Regions from separate parts of the Homo sapiens genome. Here region 1 is linked to region 2. The links are contacts of gene promoters, found by promoter capture Hi-C in human tissues and cell types (Jung and others, 2019). All regions are on one chromosome and are shown on one strand. The core of a region is centred on a gene start or on the middle of the fragment in contact, and the rest is flanking DNA. Distances in the headings are between cores, read along the strand shown.

What was found. Contacts are between HindIII fragments. The study calls those that stand out against the background at their distance.
Region 1: a contact is called between a fragment that was not itself captured here and the fragment with the promoter of XIRP2 in region 2, in 1 of the 25 tissues and cell types used here (mesendoderm cells).

The regions. Positions count from the first base shown.
Region 1 is chr2:166,564,601-166,568,572 of GRCh38, forward strand. No RefSeq gene overlaps it. Among named protein-coding and RNA genes, the nearest start is that of SCN7A, 72 kb to the left of the region's middle. The HindIII fragment of the contact is 4,250 bases long and covers 1-3,972 here.
Region 2 is chr2:166,886,977-166,890,648 of GRCh38, forward strand. XIRP2 (xin actin binding repeat containing 2) reads left to right here and starts at 1,504. Exons shown (of 11, transcript NM_152381.6): 1 at 1,504-1,581. The HindIII fragment of the contact is 6,044 bases long and covers 1-3,672 here.

The DNA of each region.
Region 1 (3,972 bases), core at 871-3,370, 320 kb before region 2:
ATTCATTGCATTGACTAGAAACGGACACCTTTAAACATCATAATATTCAATATTTGCTGATGTTAGAATTAAATGTAGATAACAGAACATTACTAGAAGTAGTGTTCAATAAATTGAACTAAATTATTACTTAACATGTAATATAATGATAATATCAATACAAATGATATAGTGATAAAGAATAAATATTTATATGCTAAGAAGATCATTTGAAAACTATAATCATCTGGAATAATTTATTTTATCTAATCCTTGCATAAAACTTCATTGAGATTTTATGTCTGCTATAGCTATTTAAGCCAAAGCCCTGAAGATAAATTACTATGGGAGAAAGCTACTCTGGAATGAAAACTCTTGCAATTTTAATAAAACAGAACTCATAACTGCAATTTTAATAAAACAGAACTCATAACTACAATTTTAATATGTTCTGTGAAACAATTTTTTTATCAAATTCATTTGTTTCGTTATATCCCAATGACAAAAAGGACCAAATTGCTCTGGGTGAGTCAGGGAATGAGTGGTGAGTGAACGTAAAGGCCTAGGACATTATTATACATGACTATAGACTTTATAAACATTGTACAGTCTCCACTCAATTTACTAAAACACTTTTTTCTTCAATAATAAGTTAGCTTAGTGTAACTTTTTTATTGTATAAACATTTTAATTAAATTTTTTGACTCTCAAAATAATAGTTTAAAACACAAACACAATGTACAGCAGTACAAAAATATTTTCTTTAAGCATTCTTCCATTTTTAAAATTATTTATTTTACTTTTTAACCTTTTTTGTTAAAAAAGTAGACACAAACACACACATTAGCCTAGGCCTACATAGAGTCAAGATAATATCACAGTTTTCTACCTTTATATTTTTTTCACTTTAATGTCTTCAGGCGCAATCAACATGCATGGAACTGTCATCTCCTATGATAATAATGCCTTCTTGTGGCATACCTCCTGAACCTGCTTAAGACTGTTTTACAGTTAACTTAAAAAAATAAGTAGAAGGAGTACACTATAATTGGAGATGTATTCTCCATAGATCCTGGTCTGAATCCATCATGTAACGTTCTGGCAGGAATGGATGAACATGCTAGGAAACAATGCAAAATGAGCTATACAACAAACACTGCAAAGCAAATAAAAAAGTTTATTGCCATGAAAAAGGTCAACATACCCTTGAGTAGAAAAATTATACATGGAAAAAACATTCAGAGTATTAAAGTAATTTGAGGCCACTTTAAAGTGAATTCGTTTAAAATTTTCAAAAGGCATCTATAAAATGGCCAAGAGATTGTAAACTAATAGATGAACATGTAAAAAGAGCTAAGAATATGTTAGAAAATTAGAATCCTTTACATTTAAAAATCAATAAATAAGTAGTAAATTAAACATAGCTGAATAAAGAATTAGTACATTTGATAATACATTTAGGTACAAATAAATGGAAAGATACTCAGTTTCCATGGATTGGAAGAAGGTCCATACTACTCAAAGAAGTCTATAGATCCAAAGCAAAATTCCAATGACATTTTTTCAGAAATGGAAGAAACAATCCTAAAATGTGTACAAAGCCATGAAAGGTTAGGAATACCTGAAGAAATCTTGAGCAAAAGAACAAGCTGGAGGCATCACACTACCTAATATCAGAATCAGTTACAAGCTGTAATAATCAAAACAGCAAGGTACTGGCACAAAACCAGACATATAGACCAATGAAACAGAATAGAGGCTCCAGAAATAAATCTATGCAATTCTCTTTTGATAATGATATTAAAAATACATATTGGAGAAAAGATAAAATTTTTAAAAGTGGTATTGGGAAAACTGGATGTGAAGAAAAAGAAAATTAGACCCTTATCTCATACCATATTAAAAAAATCAATGGAAAATGAATTAAGGACTAAAATTTAAGGTCTGAAACTGTAAAATAACTGGAAGAAAACACATAGGAAAAGCTTTATGACATTGGTCTAAGCAATGAGTTTTTGGCAATGACCATAAAAGCCCAGGCAACAAAATCAAAAATAGAAAAATGAAATTACATCAAACTAAAAACCTTTTTCACTGCCAAGGAAACAATCAACAGAATGCAGAGACAACTTAAAAAAATGGACAATATTTATAAACCATATTTCTAATAAGGGGTTAATATCCAAAATGTGTAAGGAATTCAAACAACTGAATAGCAAACAAACAAACAACAACAAAAAAAAAACACTTAAAAATGCGCAAAGGTTGTGAGTAGACATTTCTCCAAAGAAGACATGTAAATAGCCAACAAATATATAGAAAGATGCACGACCTCACTAATCATCAAGGAAATGCAATTAAAACCAAAATAAGATATCACGTCACACCTGTTAGAATGGCTATTCTCAAATAGAGAAAAGATAACAACTGTTTTGTGAGGGTACAGAGAGAAGAGAATCCTTATACATTGTTGGTAGAAATGTAAATTAGCATAGCCATTATGGAAAACAGTATGGAGATTTCTCAAAAAATTAAAAATAGAACTACCTGATGATTCAGCAAGCCCACTAGTGGGTATGTATCCAAAAGAAATGAAATCAGTATGTCAAAGAGATATCTGCACTTCCATGTTCATTGCAGCCTTATCCTCAATTGCCATGATATGGGATCAACCTAATTGTTGTCCTTCAGCAAATGAATGGATAAAGAAAATGCGGTATATACACACAATGAAATACTATTCTACCCTAAAAAAAGAAGGAAATCCTGTTATTCTCGAAAACATAGATGAACCTAGAGGAAATTATGCTAATTGAAATAAACCAGACACAGAAACAAATACCACATCCTCTCACTTATACGTGAAATCTAAAAAGGTGAAACTCACAGAAGCAGAGAATAGAATGGTGGTTACCAGGTTTTGGGGGTTAGGAGATGGAGACTAGGGAGGTCTTGGTCAAAAGATACAAAATTTCAGTTAGACAGGAAAAATAAGTTTAAGAGATCGACTATGCAACATGGCCACTATAGCTAATAATATATTGTGTACTTAAAAATTGCTGAGATAGGTTTTAACTGCTTTTATCCCAAAAAAACAAGTGTATGAGATGGTGTGTATGTTAAATAGCTTGATTTTTGCTATTCTATAACGTATGCATGTTTTAAAACATCACGCTGTATACCATAAATATATATAATTTTAAATTATCAATTAAAATAAATACATAAAATCATGTAAATTTCCAGAGTGTAACAAAATTAGGACATATGAAAGAGAAATTAGTTGTATCAAGAAACAGCAGCATATAATAAACTTCAAAGAATAGGATAATAGAAAGGATGAGAAGGTGATAATCAAAGAGATAATGGCTCAGAATTTTTCAAAATTGAGAAAGAAGTGGCGAAAATTTGACAAAGCCCATTAGGTGCTAAGCAACATTAATAAAAATGAATCTACAATCAGCATACAAAAATAATGAAACATATTGAAAATATTTAAAAGTGAATATACAGATTTTCTATGGAGAAATAACAAGCATATTAAAAGCAGAGTTTATCTCAGCAACAATTTATCTTCGAAGACAATGGAATAATATCTTCAAAGTGTTGAGGGGAAAATGTCTTTAAATGTTGAGCTCTGTGTCCAAAGTGTTTATTAAGGCATTTCACACACATACAATAATCAAAACAGCTCACCACTATCAAGACAGAATAAAATAAGACCTCTCTATACAAAGAAAACAAAAGTGACAGCAAAGTTAGTCTTCTTTAAACAAATAATCTCTTTTAAATAAAAAGAAAAGCTACAGTGTAAATCATTAAGATCTACAGCATTTCTATTGATCTAGAAACTATGCTGTGAATTATTTCTTTTCACTACTAACAGAAGGTAGACATTGGGAATATTTACAACACAGGGTGTTAAGCAAAACTCTGTCTTCCCACTTATCAAGTTAAAACAGATCTTAAGACATGGAAAGTGTTCTGCATGAT
Region 2 (3,672 bases), core at 254-2,753:
TTTGTCACTCTGTCGTGGAAGGAAATTAAGTTGATTTGACAGGATTTATTTTTCACAGTGCCAAGGAGATTTTACCCAGTAACTCATGATTTTCTAGGTGCTTGAAAATTGATTTTTTGATGATATGTTTCAGTAAGTTTTCAACTAAATACTGATGCTGACAGGTCTGTAATTTCTAAAGTTATCTGTTTTTTAATCTTCCCAGAGTAGAAACAAGAAACACACCAAGATAAGTACTGCATTTAGTCTTTTTAATATAGCAGAATGTCTAAGTCCTTTTTAAGTTCATAGATGTTGAGCTAATTGTTCTTTATTGACTTTGGCAAACTCTTGGAAAAATAATTAAGTCACCAGAATTTGCAGTTCAAAATGTGACCAGTTTATAACATTAGCCTTGTAGTCGAACCTTTATATCACACCCTGTATCGTCTCCAAATACCATATCATAACTGCCCTATATTTTAAGCTTTCAAACAAGATTTCTGAAACCTACAGTTTGAATACTGGCTAAGCACTGCAGTTATTTATATAATTTATGGTCATTTTTATATATGAAAATTCATTGATTAAAGTTGTAAGATTTAATTTATTATATTAAAATGCATTTCTGCTATTGAATTCCTTTATGCAAAAAAATCAACATTGTCTTTAGTAGTATATCACTGAACCCCTTATATATAAAAACCCCAGTTTGGAACAAAGAGCTATTAGATGACCAAATAAGAATCAAATTAGACTCTGCAATTAGAGTCTGCGAAGAGAAAGACTTTACTTATTTGAAATAGTATATAGCTTACTATATGTAAAATAAAATAAAATTATCTCAGAAGCTGTGGTCTCCTATAATTTGTAGAAGATGATAACTGATATCGCTAAGCACTTTTTGGTTGCAAATAACTATACTTAAATACTGCTAATAAAAGCTGACATCCGCTGATCACTTGCTTCATACCAAGCACTATCCTAAGTTCTTTATGAGCGTGATTTCATTTATTTTGTTCATCTCACAACAGTATAGTTAGAACATACTATTATCATCCCAATTTTCAAGTGAGGAAACTAATGTTTGGATATATTAAATAATGCATCTAATGTCATATACTAGTGTTTGAGTAGGAATTTGAAGCCATTTGGTTTGAATCTGGACTCTATGTTCATGATCATTATCCAAAATTCTCAGGTGTCCCAACCCCTCACAAATGACTTTGAATTAAATATTAGGTTTATTTTTATATGTATGGAACCTGACGCACAGTGATAATTAAAGTGTAGCTCAGCCATAGAGTGAGCCATTGGTCACTATGGGTCTTTGGGTTAAAACATACCTTTAAGAATATGTAGGAAAAAAATGATAATAGCTAACTCAGCAGCATTCATTAATTCATCTGCAGCAGATTAACTTGTTCCAAAATAATGAGATAATCTGATTCTGATGGAACATGGAGCAGACAAATTCTTCTAGAACCCGACCTGTTTCTATGTGGGTGTATCCAGGAAGTCAGGATTATTTGGAGAAATCTGGCAGGTCTCTAGGCAGACAAAAGGGAACATCTGGTAGGGACTGGGACATGTAGAAAAAAGGTAAGATTTTCCTAAGAAAAACCACTTCTTTCATAATTTTTTCTACACATACATGCTTCTCTTTGATAGTTTCTGACAGGACACTATTTTGCCTCTCTCTCCCTATTTCTTTTAAGTAATATACATTAAATTAGCATAGAATCACAGCATCATCAACAAATTCAGGCTAGCGCTTAGTGACAGACACTGCTGCTAGAATCTCTAGTTATTCATTTGTTTTTCTAACTAAGAAACAATTTAATCTGGGGCAGCAATGTGCCCAGAGAAAAAATAGTTAATCTCTCAGACTCAAAACACGTAAGTTTGGCTATATATTATATTTTTGGACACTGAAAGATAGTCAGGGACTTCTGGGGAAGAAATTTAACAAAAACAGCATCACCCAAAGAAAGCATCTGGGCAATTCTCCTTTCTTCCTTCGTTCCATTGAGTCAGGTCAGAGAGGACTCGCCAGGGACAAAGCCATGACCCTCAGGGACCCAAGGGCATGAGCCTGCAGCTGACAGCCCCATTCTGAATAAGCATTCAGGCACACAGACCAGGGTGGTTGTTGCAAACCCCTCAGCAGCTGCCTCCTGGCACAACCACCCACTAACATGTGATCTAGCAGACAAATGGAAGCTCTTCTTACCCCACTTCTTAGGCACTCCAACAAGGGTTCTGAATTCTAAAAACAGCAAAAAACATTCAAATTGTTACATATGAAATGCTTTCCTGCACCTTTCTATCTCAGAGATGACAGCTGTCCCTCCTCCACTCTCTCCCCACTCGCCCCCAGACACCTCCCTAAACAATTTCTGTGCCAAGATGAAGAGGATGTCCCAGGCCATGGGGCTTCTGGCCTTGAAGGGCTGCTGCAGTGGAGCCAGGGCACAGGGTAGGTGAGACACAGCAGAGGTTCTGGCCCAGGTCCCTGGCCTCTCCTCCTGCAGGTGGCGTTTATTTATTCAAGGGGAGCAACCATGTTCATTTTCCCAACAATGTGGCACCATATTTTGCTTTCCTCTCCACTTCCTTCTTCCTTGCAGCCTTCTCCCACTGTTTCCAGATGATCACCAGCCAGGCAAGGCCCACCTTGGCTTGCTCTGTCTCTCCTGCTAGTGCATTTTCTCCTTAAAAGCTCCTTTAGCCTGTCCAGATCCACTTGTTTGACCTTTCTGGTTGTCTATCCTACCTGCTTGGGGTTCTTGATGTTGATGAGTCCTTCCATGCCTTTGTGCTTTTGCTGGTAGTCATTTTCTTCATTTTCATTCTCTCATAAGTCTAGATTTCTTCCCCTTTTTGGGGTAAGCCCCATCTCCACCTTCTTCTCCTTGTTATTCTTCTCCATAGCAAGCAATCCTCAAGCAGGTATTGAATTAATGAATGGTGTTGTGTCTTCTCCAGTTCATTAATATTTCTGTTGATGTAGCTAAGTTTTATTTACTTTTTAGTTTTATTTTATTTTATTTTATTTGAGACAGAGTCTTGCTCTGTCACCCAGACTGGAGCATAGTGGTGTGATCTCGGCTCACTGCAACGTCCACCTCCCAGGTTCAAGCGATTCTCCTGCCTCAGCCTCCTGAGTAGCTGGTATTACAGGCACGTGCCACCATGCTGGCTATTTTTTTGTTTTTTAGTAGAGATGGGGTTTCACCGTGTTAGCCAGGATGGTCTCAATCTTCTGACCTCATGATCCTCCCACCTCAGCCTCCCAAACTGCTGGGATTACAGGCATGAGCCACCGTGCCTGGCCCCTAAGTTTTATTTTTTAACTGTGGGTTCATAGGCTTCGGGCATCAGAATCACCTCTTGGTGCTTTCTAAGAAGGCCAGTTCCCAGTTCAAATTCCAGACCTTGAAACTAGCTGAAACTCCCCGAGTGGGCCCTTAAGAATCTGCAGTGCTAAGGACATCTCAGATGATGTTGGTGCACAGAAAAGGTGAGAACCAGAGCATCTGAACAGACTGTAAATCCCTGAAGTCTGGATTTATGTTTTATAATTCTTTGACAGCTCTCAATAGTAAACTCTAAAAGTTTGTTTTTATTTTTATTATTCACACTGAGATTCATATTTGAAATTTCATGAGAGCAAATTTTGCATGCTTCTTT